4 separate regions of the Homo sapiens genome follow, and all the other regions are linked to region 1. The links are contacts of gene promoters, found by promoter capture Hi-C in blood cells and fetal thymus (Javierre and others, 2016). All regions are on one chromosome and are shown on one strand. Each heading gives the region's core, a stretch centred on a gene start or on the middle of the fragment in contact. The rest is flanking DNA. Distances are from core to core; before and after follow the strand shown.

Evidence for each region. The method cuts DNA at HindIII sites, captures the fragments that hold promoters and counts their contacts. A CHiCAGO score of 5 or more calls a contact.
Region 2: a contact is called between a fragment that was not itself captured here and the fragment with the promoter of IL2RA in region 1, in 1 of 17 cell types (total B cells). The highest score is 5.0, in total B cells.
Region 3: a fragment that was not itself captured here is called in contact with the fragment with the promoter of IL2RA in region 1 in 5 of 17 cell types (total B cells, endothelial precursors, activated CD4 T cells and 2 more); the score reaches 6.2 in total B cells.
Region 4: a contact is called between a fragment that was not itself captured here and the fragment with the promoter of IL2RA in region 1, in 6 of 17 cell types (activated CD4 T cells, total B cells, non-activated CD4 T cells and 3 more). The highest score is 8.8, in activated CD4 T cells.

What each region holds. Positions count from the first base shown.
Region 1 is chr10:6,059,723-6,063,992 of GRCh38, forward strand. IL2RA (interleukin 2 receptor subunit alpha) reads right to left here and starts at 2,645. Exons shown (of 8, transcript NM_000417.3): 1 at 2,366-2,645. The coding sequence starts at 2,429. RefSeq lists an enhancer at 2,356-2,405 and a cis regulatory region at 2,398-3,028. The HindIII fragment of the contact is 7,385 bases long and covers 1-4,270 here.
Region 2 is chr10:5,792,609-5,796,516 of GRCh38, forward strand. It overlaps GDI2 (GDP dissociation inhibitor 2), which reads right to left. Exons shown (of 11, transcript NM_001494.4): 4 at 2,277-2,411. Among named protein-coding and RNA genes, the nearest start is that of GDI2, 19 kb to the right of the region's middle. The HindIII fragment of the contact is 334 bases long and covers 1,749-2,082 here.
Region 3 is chr10:6,364,679-6,369,089 of GRCh38, forward strand. No RefSeq gene overlaps it. Among named protein-coding and RNA genes, the nearest start is that of LINC02656, 17 kb to the left of the region's middle. The HindIII fragment of the contact is 2,108 bases long and covers 1,065-3,172 here.
Region 4 is chr10:6,390,320-6,394,462 of GRCh38, forward strand. It overlaps a transcript of PRKCQ not described here. Among named protein-coding and RNA genes, the nearest start is that of LINC02656, 42 kb to the left of the region's middle. The HindIII fragment of the contact is 7,289 bases long and covers 1-4,143 here.

The DNA of each region.
Region 1 (4,270 bases), core at 1,395-3,894:
ATTGGGGTCTCTCTCCCTGGAATCTCATTGATGGAAATTTACTGGTCCCTTGGGGCTCCCTTTACATGTCATCCTCATGAAGCCTTCTCTGATAGCCCAACGCTCCGTAGATCTTACCACACTCTGACTGGTATTACTATATTTATATCTATGTTTTTCTCCTCCTCACCAGGTTATAAGTTGCTTAAGTGTCAGGACTATATCTCCCTCATTTTTGTATTTCCTATAGTGTTGAGGGGCAGATGGGGTATGGATAGATGTTGAGAATGGCGTGAAGGAGTCCTTATGGGACTCTAGTTCCCCTGCTCCCTCCAAGACCACTCAGACCCTTGGATAAGTCACCAATAGCTAGAAATAACACGAGTTTACTTGAAATGTGTCTTCCAGAGGCAGAGCATGATTAATTGTCAAGATTTTCCTGTTCTTGGCTTAGACTGAGTTAGCAAAGACCCTGTGGATGTAGAAATCACATTGAAAAACCTTCCTAAAAGTATGCCCTCTTTATAAGAACGGCACGATGGACTCTGAGGACTCAGGGGAAAGGGTGCGAGGTGGGTGAGGGAAAAGAGACTACGCACTGGGTACAGCATACATGCTCAGGTGATGGGTGCACCAAAATCTTACAACGCATTGGGTACAGCATACATGCTCAGGTGATGGGTGCACCAAAATCTTACAAATCACCACTAAAGAACTTATTCATGTAACCAAACACCACCTGTCCTCCAAAACCTATTAAAATAAAACACATAGGTCAGGCGCGATGGCTCACACCTGTAATCCCAGCACTTTGGGAGGCCATGGCTGGTGGACCACAAGGTCAGGAGTTTGAGACCAGCCTGACCAATATGGTGAAACCCCATCTCTACTAAAAATACAAAAATTAGCTGGTCGTGGTGGTGCACGCACCTGTAAACCTAGCTACTCAGGAGTCTGAGGCACGAGAATTACTTGAGCCCATGAGGTGGAGGTTGCAGTGGACTGAGATCACGCCACTGCACTCCAGCCTGGGCAACAGAGTGAGACTCTGTCTCAAAAAGTAAAAAAAAAATAAATAAAAATGTAATAAGTAAATAAAATGCCCTCTTTAAAGACACTCCTACATCTGGGCCAGTACACAGCCCAGCATGACTGGGCACTTCCCCTAAACAAGCAAGCAGACTCCTGAAATGCATCATTATGTTTCATTTCTTAATAAATTCTTTCTACAGCCAGTTAGCATTCTACTTGTTGCCATTATAGACTTTCAAAAAACACTATAAACTTTCTTATCTGTCTTCCTGAGTAAGCAAAGGGAAGACATTATTAGAAAATTCACACTCAATTAGGAAGAGTGGTTTGAGGTAGAAGTTGGTGGTTTTTTATTTCTTTAAAAAAAAATATTGGCCAGGCACGGTGGTTCATGCCTGTAGTACCAGCAGTATGGGAGGCCAGGGTGAGTGGATCACTTGAGCCCAGGAGTTCAAGACCAGCTTGGGCAACATGGCAAAAACCCCATCTCTACAAAAAAATAAATTAACCAGGTGTGGTGGCGTATGCCTGTAGTCCCAGCTACTCAGGAGGCTGAGGTGGGAGGATCGCTAAGCCTGGGAGGCGAAGGTTGCAGTAAGCCAATATCGCGCCACTGCACTCCAGTCTGGCTGACAGAGACAGTGTCAAAAAAAAAAAATCTTCGAGAAAATCCATTTGAAACAAGGAATGAAATTTAAAATTTGCATATATAAACACGTATACATATACATATCATGTATATACATAGGATTATGAGAAGTAGTAATGTTCTAAAAGTGAGTATGCATATTTTTAAAAATTTCTGTAAAGTTGCACTTGTAAGGAAATTCCTAGGTGTTATTTCCTAAGACGTAAAAGCAGTGTATACATCCTTGAAGCTAAACTTTTCTGAGATCTTAAATTCTCCCAGTGTTTGATATATGAGTACTCATGTCTCCAGCAAATTAACCTGAACTTAAAGAGCTTCCTGATAGCTTCTTAGTTGGGGGGTGGGAGTGCAGAGAATAAAAGGAAATTCATTGAAGAATAAAAGATAATTTCTTGAGAAACCTGCTCATCGGGACCCTGTTAACATCCAAATATCCCAAATATCATGCCACACTATTCTTCCCAGAATTAATTGTCAAGGACTGAGAAGGACAGGAGAACCTAATGCTATTTCAGGCTCTCTTGACAGACCAAGGAACAGTGAGGCATAAACTGGGGTCCCCGTGGGTCACAGGCAAGAGGTGGAACCCAAGATTCAACTCCCTTCTTGGAACCATCTACCTGGGGACTCCCTCTGGTTCTGTGGCTGGGAAGAGGGATGCCCATCAGCCTTCCCGGAATTCCGGGGGCACCCACAGGCCCTTACCTGCCTGGCAGCCAGGCACCATGATGAACGTGAGCAGTCCCCACATCAGCAGGTATGAATCCATCTTCCTGACCCTTGGGACCAGCCGGGGCAGTGAAGCGGAGGTCTTTCTCTGCAGAAGGCCCAGTTGCCGTCAGCCTCTTTTTGGCATCGCGCCGGAGGATGTGGGATGGGAAGATCGGTCCGCCTGGGCTGTCACCCTTGTGGGTCCATCCAGTCTCTATCGGAGTCAGGAGTTGCTCTCTTTAAGTATTGGGCTGGCGTGTTCAGCCAGGAAACTGCCTAGCACTCTCTTCTCTCATCTCAAATATAGGAAGTGTTTTTTTTTTTTTTTTTTTTTGATGACAATATAGTTTGCGGTAATTTTTCAAACCAGGTTTTTTTTTTCAAGTTCAATTGCTGGAGGTGTGGGCTGGGGTTGATGAGAAGGATTGAACTTCATTTATGAATCCTTTCTTCAGCTACGCCCATAAAAGGAGAGGGAGATTCCCCTGCCGTTGAAGGTAGGGTGAGCAAGCACTTCTTGGCAGTGGTCTCACCCAGCACTTCATAAGCTGAGTCCTCCCCTCAGGGCTGTAACGTCCTCAGGAGTCAGCCGGGACCACCTGGGATGAAGGAGCAAAGTCCTGACAAGATTCTGGTCAGGCAGCCTCCAATATTCAAATAATGGAGAAGGATGCGGCGAACTGAAGGATCCTGAGAATTCATAAATAATTCCCCAAGGCTTATAACCTGTACTAGCCATCATCATTTCACCACAGTGCCCTGGGCTCCTGAAAGTGCATTGTCATTTTATAAGGTGTTTTGCTTCCAGATTTCTTTCTCTTAAAGGATCATGCAAAAAGTGGGCTTTGGTTTTAAACTTTGGATTATTTTGTAAAATTCAGTCTTGCTTATTTATTGATCAGAGCTCTCTTCTGATTATTATGAAATGGTTGAGTGTGTTTTGCTCCCTGGAAATTTGTCTAAGACTTAAAGCCATTGCATAGTTAGAGCAAAACACAATTTTTTAAATACTAGAAAGCAAGCAAAGATATTAACAAAAAGAAAACCCTCCGGGCAAGCCAAGGAATTCAGGGTTCCAAAACACATCACGTTGACTGGGCCTGGTGGCTCATGCCTGTAATCCGAGCACTTTGGTAGACCAAGGTGGGTGGATCACCTGAGGTCAGGAGTTTGAGACCAGCCTGGATGACATGGTGAAACCACCGTCTCTACTAAAAAAAAAAAAAAAAAAAAAAAAAAAAAAAAATTAGCCAGGCGCAGTGGCACACGCCTGTAATTCCAGCACTTTGGGAGGCTGAGGCAGGCAGATCACCTGAGGTCGGGAGTTTGAGACCAGTCTGGCCAACATGGTAAAACCCCATTTCTACTAAAAATACAAAAATTAGCCAGGCGTAGTGGCGGGCGCCTGTAATCCCAGTTACTCAGGAGGCTGAGACAAGAGAATAGCTGGAACCGAGGAGGTGCAGGCTGCAGTGAGCTGAGATTGCGCCACTGCACTCCAGCCTGGGCGACAGAGTGAGACTTCCATCTCAAAAAACTTGTCAAAATATGACAAGATTCTCTTAAATTCCACAGCAGGTATAACTTCCTCTCTAGGAACGTTTCTCACTCTGCGGGCAAGTGCTCCAGTAGAAACTCCTAGTACTCCCACCAAAGTCACGCTCCTTTCTTCTTGGGCATGGGAGTAGAATGCACTTGCTGCCTCTCCTGGAAAATAGCTTATGCTTTAAGTAGTTAATGTGGATTGTCATTATAAAATATTTAAATTTATGTTAATGTCTTTTTTTTTTTTTTTTTGGAGCGCAATGGCACAATCTTGGCTCACTGCAACCTCTGCCTCCCAGGTTCAAGTGATTCTCCTGCGTCAGCCTCCTGAGTAGCTAGGATTACAGGCACGCG
Region 2 (3,908 bases), core at 666-3,165, 270 kb before region 1:
CAAGTGATTTCTACTGTACATAAATTATACCTCAATAAACCTAGCCTTAAAAATATATACAGAAGCATATGCGCTTATTCAAAAAAAAAAAAAACAGAAGAAGGATAAGCCAGAAAATGATTACCTAACAGGTCAGAAAGAATGGAAGTAGAAAAGTAAGAATGAGACCAAGACTCGAAATATACCTTTTAACTTTCAAGCTCTGTAAATGTTTTATATATCTGAAAAAATCAGAGAAAATAAAACTGCCAAACGATAATTTCTATTAGATGAAGGAGGTAACTGAAGCTTTAATATAAGTAAGAGCTCCAAGAAAGAAAATGTAAAAGAAAGAACCCACGACCTTTGTCCAAAAAAAAAAAAAAAAAAAATTCTATTTCTTATTTTTATCTAAAAAAAATTTTGAGACAGGGTCCCCCTCTGTCACCCAGGTTGGAGCGCAGTGATGCAATCACAGCTCACTGCAGCTTTGATTTCCTGGACTCAAGCGATCCTCCTGCCTCAGCCTCCACAATACCTGGGACTACAGTAATGTACCACCACATCTGGCTAATTTTCTTATTTTTTGAAGAGACAGGGTCCTGCTATGTTGCCCAGGCTGGTCTTCAACTCCTGGCCTAAATCAATCCTCCTACCACGGCTTCCCAAAGCAATGGGATCACAAGCGTGAGCCACCACACCACACCACTGTTAAAAAGGATTCTATTCAAACTCAAACTCCTACTTCTATGAAGATACTTTATTTGGATTAAATTTTCATAGTCATTTAAAAGATTTAAAATAATTTCGAACCCATGATTACACTACTAACTACCCGCAACTGAATGAGAAACTGTTCCTTCCCTTCCCCAATTATCAGTCCTAACCTAGCCCTGATTCTTTGCAGTATTTTTTACTTTCTGGCTATGTCTTTAATATTTTATACCCAATATTTTCTCCCCTAATCAGAAGTTAATAGAGGAAACTGCCAAAATAATTCAAATTAGGTTTACAGATGAGAAAACTTTTCAGCGCTGATGCCAAAATAATTATGAGAGAACTTATGAGCACTTTCCCTCTTCTAAGCTCCTAGAGCCCTCACCTACCCTTAGTTATACAAATTTATCCTTCTCCAAACTGCTCCATACAAGGACTAAAACATCTTGAAGAACAAAAAGGTCTTTTCTGGACTGTTTGCTATTTAAGAGAGACGCTGAAATAGGAAATGTTAACCAGAACTCTTTGGTGAGGCAACAGAGGAAATAATGTTGGGCAGAGAATAAGATCACTCCAAGGCTGGGCGCGGTGGCTCATGCCTGTAATCTCAGCACTTTGGGAGGCCAAGGCAGGTGAAACACCTGAGGTCAGGAGTTCAAGACCAGCCTGGCCAACATGGTGAAACACCATCTCTACTAAAAATACAAAAATTAGCCGGGCGTGTTGGTACATGCCTATAGTCCCAGCTACTCAGGAGGCTGAGGCAGGAGAATCGCTTGAACCTGGGAGGTAGAGGTTGCAGTGAGCCTCTGAGATCGCGCCATCACACTCCAGCCTGGGTGACAGAGCGAGACTCTGTCTTTAAAAGAAAAAAAAAAAAAAAAATATATATATATATATATATATATATATATATATATATATATATAAAACTCACCAGGAGTTCCTAAAATCAAAGATATTGGGAATTACTAACAAGACCAATTAGAAGATGAGCATCATCAGAATGAGTACTTCTCCTGTTGGCACGTTGGGTAATATAGCGTAGGGTAAGCTTAGTAACATGATTAAGCACCAGGGCTCTGGAGCCACACTACCAGCATTTCACTTCCAACCCAGCTACTTATCCCAGCTACTTATTACGTATGCAATTTTAGGCCTGAGTTTCATCACCTATAAAATGGAGACCCTATGTCATAGAGATGTTTCAGAAGTCAAATAAGAAAACAATATGGAGTGTTCAGTACAGAGCCTTTAGACACAGGAAATACTCAACAGAAAGCATAGCTATTATGAATTACTGTGAAAAGAACACTATTAACCCTAGATAAGCTCAGATCCACCAGCCACAAGGTACATGATCTATAGATGATCATTTAAACTCTAAGCTTCAAACGGGTAGGAATTTTTGAACATTTTGTTCACTGATGTGTTCCCAACTGCCTAGAACAGTGTCTGGCACATGATAGACATTCAATAAATATTTGTTGACTGGGTCCTCTCTAAGACTCTTTTCCAGTATAAAATCTCATTATTCTGAGAAAATAAAACTAGTTACTAGAGAAAATAAAACTACTTACTAGATGCCAGGGCTTCTGCTTCAGTGGAAGGAACCTTGTAGATTTTTCCACCCTTATAGACAAAGCTCCCTTCAGTCACTTTAAAATCCAGATAGCGAGTTACCTCTGTATAAAGCAGCATCTTAACCAGCTGACCTAGAAAAGTCACATAATTCAAACTATAACTTAAGTCTATAAATTATAAAGAACATTTACTAATACTAACAGCTTCTAAAATTTTTTCTAACGATGTTCAATAACTCCAACAAAATAATTTTTTTTTGAGACACAGTCTCCCTCTGTTGCCCAGGCTACAGTGCAGTGGCACAATCACGAGCTCACTGCAACCTCAGCCTCCTGGGCTCATGCAAGCTTCCAGCCTGACGCTCCTGAGTACCTGGCACTACTATGCCTGGCTAATTTTTTTTTGTATTGTTTTGTAGAGACAGGGTTTTGCCATGTTGCCCAGGCTGGTCTCAAACTCCTAAGCTCAAACAATCCACCCACCTTGGCCTCCCAAGTGCTGGGATTATAGGCACGAGGCACCGCGCCTGGCCCAAAATAACCTCCAAAGCTGTATTTTAAATAGGACAACCAGAATGCAAACTTATTGCACTGCATATTACACGTTTTTGTTATTTTTTATCTTTTTTTCCTATTCAAGGTTGAATACATAGGTTTTTTTAATGTTACAACTTAAAGGTTAATAATTCTATCAACTTGCTTTTGCAAAAGCAATGAAAAATTTATTAGAGATATGAGGTTTGGAATTATAGTATTATTGGCCAGGCACAGGTGGCTCACACCTGTAATCCCAGCACTTTGGGAGGCCAAGGAGGGAGGATTGTTTGAGCCCAAGAGTCCAAGACCAACCCACACAACACAGTGAGACCTCATCTCTACCATAACACAAAAAAATTAGCCAGGTGTGGTGGAACACCCAGGTGTGGTGGGACACTGAAGTGAGAGGATCACTTGAACCTAGAAGTCAAGGCTTCAGTAAGCTATGATTGCATTACTACACTCCAGCCTGGGTGACAGAGTGAAACCCCTGTCTCTAAAAAAAATTAATAAAAACAAACAATAGAATATAAACTCAAACAAGGAAAAAGGATAGCAGATGCTTTATTTCATGTGCACAAACAGACCTATAACCAAAAATTTAGTTTTTCAATGTCATCTCAGAAAAAAGTACTAATATTACAGCAATTTAAAAAAATACTTAGCCTGTAATCACAGTACTTGGGAGGCTGAGGCGAGCAGGTCACTTGATGTCAGGAGTTCAAGACCAGCCTGGCCAACATGGTAAAACCCTGTCTGTACTAAAAATACAAAAATTAGCTGGGCGTGGTGGCACGCACCTGTAATCCCAGCTACTTGGGAGGCTGAGGCAGGAGAATTGCTTGAACCAGAAGGCGGAGGTTGTAGTGAGCCAAGATCATGCCACTGCACTCCAGCCTGGGTGACAGAGCGAGACTCCGTCTCAAAAAAAAAAAAAGAAAAAGAAAACTTAGATCCTCTAAAATTAAAAAAATGTGAAAATTTTAAAACCCTACAAACTAGAAAAACATTAAAATAATGCTGTTTCAAAAGGCCCAGTTATTTAAGACTGTCATAAGCATCAACAGGTAAGTCTGTGCCAAAGGCTTACAA
Region 3 (4,411 bases), core at 869-3,368, 300 kb after region 1:
TATGTATTTTACCATCATTCAAAAAAAAAAAGAAGCTGCCAATTGTTTTCTGAATATATACATATATGTGTGTGTGTGTATATATATATATACACACACATACACACACACATATATATATATACACACATATATATATATGTATAACACTTTGCCTAACTGGGTCGTTTCAAAGCACTCAACTTAGTTTTTTTGGAAACAACTCTCTTTTGTGTTCATATTTCATTCATCGTGGAATGTTTTGCTAAAAGAGCCTGCATAGGTTTGAGAACCACTGTCATTGACTCTAGTAGAGACAGCAGCCCAGTGTGTGCCTCTGAAGATAAGCTTCCTGGCAGTGAACTGCCAGTATGCTCCAGGCACGACTGAGTCTGTTTTACAGAGGCCATGGAGAGCTGTCATTAATCTGTGAGTCTGTGAAGTGGAGGCCACTTGACAGTTTCTGCTGAGATGCTTCCGATGCCCTCAGTGTGTGCATGATCCACAAATAGCTTGCAGTCAGTGTTTTCCTGATGAGGGATGACTGCATTGCATCTTGTGTGTGTGCTTGACATCCTTAAGATGCTGTGAAGTTTTGGAGGAAAGTCTAATTTTAAAAGTTGGGTTAGGTTTTGGCTATAATTATGTTATACAACAAATAACTGAAATCTCAGAGGCTTTTAACAGTAGTCATTTATTTCACACTCATTGGTCAGCTGGTCATTATTTGGCTGACCGTGGAACCAGAACAAAGCCAAAGCGGTGTTCTCCAGGGGTGCTTTTTTAGGCCACAGTGGGAGCCCAGCCAATGCCTTCCTTCAGTGATTGGTAAAAATTTCTCCCCGAGATCCCATGCTGTTCTATCCTGAACAGCTTTGGATGTTTATTTTTCTGATTCTATCTCTATTATCTCTCTTCTGTTGACACATTCCTAACATGAAGACATTGCAGCCCTGGCAGGGGAGAACAAATATTTCCCATTCCACCCTCCTAGGTTCAATGACTTGGGCCCAAGAATCAAACTGATAAAAGGCAGATTAACAAGAGGAAAAAAAAACAATTTAAATTATGTAGGCATGTACAAAAGCTTACAAGGAAACACATGGCTCAAGGAGGCGGCCAGTTGATTGAGGCTTATGTATCATCTTAGACTAAACACAGTAAAAAGGGGTCTTGGGCTTCTGAGTGGGGAGGCAAGTTATGAGAAGGGGAGGGGAGGAGACGTAGGGTAAATAAGTTTGCCTTGTTATGCAGGTAAGTCAGGTGATGAGAGTTGTTGTCTTGGAGAGTAGCTCTCTTCGTGGTATGGGGACGTCTTTACAAGTGGAGATTTCCATTATAAAAGTAAATTTCCTTTACAGGAGGGGAAATTTATATACTCCAGTTTTAGGGAGTAAGGGAAGAGGTAAAGGCCTTGTCCTGCAATCAATGTGGTTGTTTTAGCTCAAAACAATCTATATGCCTGTTAAAGCAAACTAAATATGGCCGGAGAAGGACTCCATACTTCTATATTTGAGTCCTCATGGATGAACTGCAACCTAGCTTAACAGTCAGAAAAAATGGAAAACCTAGCTTAATAGTATGCACCTGTAACAATGGCTGAGTGTTGGCCAATCCTAGTGGCCATGCTTCAACCACTCATAGACTGCTGAATGTTCAAACTGTGTTCAAATAAGGCAAACGCCGAGCTATAACCAATCTCACTGTTTCTGTACCTCGCTTCTGATTCCTGTACATCGCTTTACTTCTTTTGTCTATAAATTTGTTTTGACCATGAGGCACCCCTGGAGTCTCTGTGAATCTGCTGTGATTCTGGGGGCTGCCCAATTCGCGAATCATTCATTCCTCAATTGAACTCCTTTAAATTTAATTCTGCTGAGGTTTTTCTTTTATCATGTCAATGAGGCCTAATTTCCCATGGCATTTCTGGTGCCCTTCTCCCTCTGCATAAGGTGCAATGTGGAGTGCACAAGGCTGATTTAATTCCTTCTTTCTTGAGTGCTATCTCTGCCAATGCATTATGTGCTTCTTATATGTATATCACAGAGTGAGGGGTTACTTATCAGTCTCTGCAGCGATGCACCGAAAAAGACCCATCTCATAGAAAAATGGAAGTTAAATAAGAGAGAGAAATAATTCTTTGATACCCCCCTACAACTTGTCTAAAATGAACACCTCCCTTTTCATACATGGGCTAAATGCAAATGCCTTAGGAGGGGTTACACACTGATTTACATTCACCCTAAAACATAAATGATGTTTCAGATTTTAGTTTTGATCAGTGTGTTAGTGCATTCTCACATTGCTATAAAGAAATACCTGGGACCGGGTAATTTATAAAAAAAGGAATTTAATTGGCTTACGGTTCTGCAAGCTATGCTTCCTGTACAGCCTGCACCAGCGCCAGCATCTACTTGGCTTCTGGGGAGGCCTCAGGAAGCTACAATCATGGCAGAAGGCAAAGGGAAGCAGGCACACCACATGGAGAAAGCACGTGGAAGAGAGAGGGGGAAGGCGCCACACACTTTTAACAACCACATCTTTCGAGAACTCACTGTCATGAGAACAGCACCAAGAGGATGGTGCTAGACCATTCGTGAGAAATCTACCCCCATGATCCAATCACCTCCCACCAGGCCCCACCTTCACCACTGGGGATTACATTTTGACATGAGATTTGGTGGGGGACAACATCTAAACTCTCTCAATCAGTGATTACAAATGGGAGAATGAGGTGTTAGGACACTCAAAGATGAAAAGAAGTAACTTGTTAGAAGTGGCACACTGGCCACTGAGCTCTTACTATAGGCAGGGATGGTATAGGGGTCCTGTAAGAGAAGGTGGGCAATAAGGGAGAAGAGAAGGGTGCAGGATTGAGCAGCTGTGGCTCCTAAATTGTCATCATCATTTTCATAGCTATGGTAATCACCAACCCTGTTGAATAAAAGCCATCTTGTCCAAGAGGTATATAGTCCAAGCAATTCAAAGACCCTGAGACAGTCCTGCCATTGAAACCCAGATTTTTTTCAGGTGCTCCTGAAAATACTCATTGCTCTAGACCTTTGCTGTTTTCAAGTCTTGGGTACATAGCAATCCCTGTATCCCCAGTAGGTATAGCTGGTTTCTTTATATTTTGCCATTGTATTCTGTATTGTGTAGTATATATGACCAGACATTAGTACTAGAAGAAAGAAGCTTTGGAGATGTTGAACGCTTCCCTTTACAGTTGAAAAAGGTCAAGCTGGGGGATTAAGTGATTTGTTTCAAATACCCCAACCAGTTAATGGCCGTGGAAGGATGAGAATTATTGCCTGTCTTACTAACACCTCCTTCTAAGGAAAACTGGCTTATCTGCAGGTAGCTATCTTGGGAAACTCGTGACCCCAATTCCCTGTGACAGTCCATTGAACCAGCATGGTCATCTGACCCATGTACAGTCGATCTTTTGATTTGTTCACAACCTTTGACACATGACCTTGGCCAATCAGATTTCCCCCCTTAGAAATGTGAACCAAGAAACGGAAGCTGAAATTGCTAATGTCGTAATATGGAGGGCATTTGCATGGCTATGGTGAAGCATGCAGTTGAGACTGGGAGGGAGCCTGAACTGTAAAGGAGAGAGTAAAGGGAACAGGGCACATTCGGCAAGCAAAAGTCCTAGAAGGAGCAACCACATGGCCCATGTGAGAGAGGAATTAGCCTGGGTTTCTGTCAGAGGCGTTCGAACCAGAGCGACTTCATCTTGAGTGAGAGCTAGGAAAATGGGGCTGAGACTTGCTGGGTTGCGCTCCCAGAAAGTTAGGTATTCCTGGCCTCTAGATGTTTATGGTTAAGGGAACAGATGGATAACATTTACTAAACAGACCTAGGCTTAGGAGTGTTCTTGTATCCTGATATCTTGAGAACAGAAGCATTCCTAATTTTGCCTTAAAGAAAATAATAGCGATTCTTGCAAAATACAATAATTAAGAAAATTAATGCTTTATCACAAATCCTTGCAGCAGAACACATCTCCCTGTAATCTATTTTTTATCCTATATATAAACAAATGTTGTACCTAGGGTGAACACATTCTTCCTCTTGCTTTCAGGAATACCGTACTCTGCCTGTGGACGAGCTATTCTTTCACCACTTTACTTTCTTGATAAACTTGCTTTCACTTTACAGGCTCGTCCTGAATTCTTTCTTGTGCGAGATCAAGAATCCTCTCTTGGGGTCTGGATCAGGACCCTTTTTCCTGTAACACTTCCATGGTTCCTGGGGTAGCTCTGGTTCCAGCTCCAGTTCCAGCAAAAGCCCATTTGCACCCAGCCACCCCGCTTCTTAAATGAAAGATAATTTTGGCATCTATTTCTTGATACCAGCAGATGCCGATTGGGACATGACAGAGCCAGGACTAGCTGCTAGGTTTCCTGGCTCCCAGCTTATGTTT
Region 4 (4,143 bases), core at 1,530-4,029, 330 kb after region 1:
TATTTCCTCAATTTTATGTTCTAATCCTTCCATTGCTTTTTATGTCTGAAATCATATTTTTAATTTTTAAGAATTTTGTTCTTTGAGTTACGTTTACATAGTACCTGTTCTTGTTTCTTCTTTTGTCTCTCTAAAGCTGTTAGTGATAGCTTCTCTTTAGAAAGTCTTTTTTTTCCCCTTCATGCATAGGCTTGTTTTCTCTAAATTGCCTGCCCCCTTATTTATTTGTATTGGCTTTTATCTTCCTTATTAGAGATTTTCTTCAGTTATCTTGTAATCCGTGATTGTTTCCTAATATTTTAGAGTGGGGAACTGAAACTGCCATTGCAAAATTATGACCAAGACAGTGAAAGAGATCTGACCTGACTGACTCCATCTTGCTTCTAACCTCCAAACTGTCCTCATTCATTCTTGGGCATGGGCTGAACTAACTTTGGGAGGAACTTAGTTTATAGTTTAAAACAAAGATAATAACAGCCTTTTCCCAAAACAAACCTCCTTCTTGTCTAGGATCTAGACTGCCTTTGTAGAACTAAGAAATTAGCCACAGGATTAGAAATTACAGTTTAGGAGTCATGCAGCTGGAGATTACAAGATTCTGACCCCCCCTAAACTGCTCCTAAGATCAGGGCTTGAGATATTTTGCAGACCCTGCACTTGATGGATCAGCTGGCACCACCCAGATCGATAAACTGGCTCATCTGATCCTGTGGCCCCTACCCAGGAACTGACCCAGCGCAAGAGGACAGCTTCAACTCCCTATGATTTCATCTCTGACCTAACCAATCAGCACTCTTGACTCACTAGCCTTCCCTCACCCACCAAATTATCCTTAAAAACTCTGACCCCTGAATGCTCAGGCAGGCTAGTTTGAGTAATAATAAAACTCCAGTCTCCTGCACAGCTGGCTCTGTGTGAACTACTCTTTCTCCATTGCAATTCCCCTGTCTTGGTAAATTAGCTCCATCTAGGCAGTGGGCAAGGTGACCCCCAGTGGGTGGTTACAGGACTATGAGGCAGATAGACCTGTGTGCATGTGAGTGGAGTGTGTTAACTGTGTACTTTAGAGAAGGACTAATTGGCTACACCATTGAGCTTGAGAACTTCCTTGGCTGGGCTGCTCTCTTGTCCTCTCAGCCTGATCATGTCCCACAGAAAACTCAACTGAGAGCTCACCTGGGTTGAAAGCCTGACTCTGCATGCTGGGGAGGGCATCTCAGCATATATACATTTAATCCCTTTCCTTCATCCTTTTAGTGTCCCTCATACCAGAGACCCTCTCTGTTGTACCCTCCTCTGACTATAAACCTACTGTCTTTTGCAAAAGTAGGAAGAACTAGGAGCTTAGTTGCTGAAACGGGGAAGAGGACATGTGGCCCTGTTTCTTAAACAAACTTTCAACAAACTGTCTTTATTTTAGCCCTTCTTTTATTCCCACGTTTATCTAGATGTACAGAATTTCTGAGCTTCTGGGAAAGCCTGCCTCAGTTTGGTCCTAGGATTTCTCTCTACTTCCGGCTTGGTCTTTTTTCTACTCCTTATCTGGTTTCTCTCCTTAAAATGTTGTTACAGTTGTAGATCCTTCCAGCTCCCCTATCTTTGAGGGCTTATGCTAAAAAAAAAGTTATTTTGCTATTGTTTTAGTGCATTTTGTTTTTGAGGAAGAAGTGAAAATAGATGCACATGTTAAATCCACCATCTTTACCTAAAGGTTTTCTAATAGCATTCAATAATCCATCCTTTCCCCCCACGAAATTAAAATATCGCCTTTGGATTCTGTACCTTGTCAATATTATGTTAATTACCTCGTTAACATTATGTTAATTTTATTACAGTGCCTTAAAAGTGTTTTTCATAACTTCTAAAGCAAGTTCCCCTTTTCTCTTTTTTCCAGAAAATTTTGGATTATACTTGGGCATTTATTTCACATAATATAAATGTTAAGATAATATGATTTAATTTTAAGCATAAAGCAAGCAATCAAAACGAAAACAAATCAACAACAAAAACCCCCTAAACCTTATTGAGATATTAGTGAAACGGCTACATTGTCTGAGGTATATACCCTGGGGTTCGTCATCGCGCCAGGAAAATTTAGGACACAGACACACAAAAGGAGTTTAGGAGCTGAGGTTTAATAGGCAGAAGAAAAGAGAAAGAGAAACGACTTAGAGAAAGGAGTCTCCAAGTGGAAAAGACTGGGTGGCAACGGATTTTATAGCCCGGTTTGAGGAGGTGGTGTCTGATTTATGTAGGCCTCACAGATTGGTTAGATTACTTACAACTTTTACATAGCCTACAAGGAAGGCTGGTTGCCCCACCAGTCTTGTTATGCAAATGGGCTTTCCAGTTGATCAGGGCCATCTTGCCTGCTCTTCACTGTACCGGTGGCTGACAAAGAGAAGGAAAGATTGAGCCGCCATCTTGAACATGTCTAGTCCCTAGTTCCTGCCCAGCACTCACCTGAGCGAGCTCCCAGCTTGCTTGTCTATGTTTGCAGCTCGACTTTAAGGCTGCTGTTTGTTAGAAAAGGATTTGGGGATGCTTTTCCTTAAAGAGGAGAACCTTATCGAGGACTCCCATACCCTTACTATCTGCCTTAGTGATTTCTTCTTAACTCCTGTATCACTAGTTGGAAAGACATTAAATTTGTATGTTAATTGTTGGGAGAGTTTTTTTATATGTATATGTGTATCTATATATATGTTATTGTTATTGTCTTTTCATCATAGAATATGCTTCCATTTACTTCAAACCTGTTTTTGGTGCTTTGATTTGATTTTATAGTTTTCTTTATGTGAACCCTTTGCTGTTAAATATATTGGATATGTTTTTCTCAGTAAAGTGTTTGGCTTTTTTTGTGAAGGGCCTGAGAGTGAATATTTTTCACCTTCACTTTTGTGAAGGGCCTGAGAGTAGATATTTTCACATGTGATCTCTTTTAAACGACCCAGCTCTGCCACTATGGTAAAAGCAGCCACAGACAATACCTAAGTGCATGACCGTGGCTGTGTTCCAATAAAACTTTATTTATGAAAACAGGCAGTAGGCTGGACTGGTGTACATGGGCTGTAGTTTGCAGACTCCTGACACAGGAGGTCCTTCACAGAATATCAATCCATTAATCTGAAAATGCAGGAGGAACTGTGTGTTTTTAGTCAACTGTCTCAGAGACATTTCACAGAATCTGGGGTCTGAAAGTTCTTTTGTGGGGGAGTGCCTTATTGTCCCACAGTTTGATCACAGTGTTTTTTTTTTTTTTTTTTTTTTGAGACTGAGTCTCGCTCTGTCACCCAGGCTGGAGTGCAGTGGCTCCATCTCGGCTCACTGCAACCTCCGCCTCCTGGGTTCAAGCGATTCTCCTGCATCAGCCTCCTGTGTAGCTGGGATTACAGACGTCCCCGACAACACCTGGTTAATTTTTTTGTATTTTTTTCAGTAGAGATGGGATTTCACCATCTTGGCCACGCTGGTCTTGAACTCCTGACCTCGTGATCCACCCTCCTTGGCCTCCCAAAGTGCTGGGATTACTGGTGTGAGCCACTGCGCCAGGCCGATCACAGTGTGTTTTTAATTGTATCACACATTGCATCTTACCATGCATACTTGTGTTCAGGTCTGCCCTGCTCTTGGATTGTAAAATCTTAGGTCTATGGTAGGGTCTGAGCTTTACTTATGCTTGTAACTTTCTTAGCACACTGTCATGGGGTAGATAATCAATGCATGTTAAATTAATACATGAAGAGGCAGGAGGAAATGATTTCTTAGAATACATGTGAAAAGGAAGCTGCTACTGCCATTTATGTATGATGTTAAATTCTGATTAGTTTATATGTGAAGGTGTCATGTCGTTCATTCCTTATCTTTGGTGATAAGCAGGGTGTAGCACTGGCCTTGTGATTACGACTTTGACACACTCTGGGTCCTCCCCCATCTGCCTTTGTTGTCGTAAGTGTAGTGGCCTGATCTCCAGAGACAGGACACCTGGCGCCTCTGCAGTCTGCTTGTGCATTCACAGGGCACACAGCACTCCACCGATGGTCAGGTTCTTGAACTAGGTCAGTCATTTTTCCCATTTGCCACTTGTCTCCTGGAGTAGAAGGGGGAAGAATTAGAACACAAACATCTAAAAATGCAAGAGAG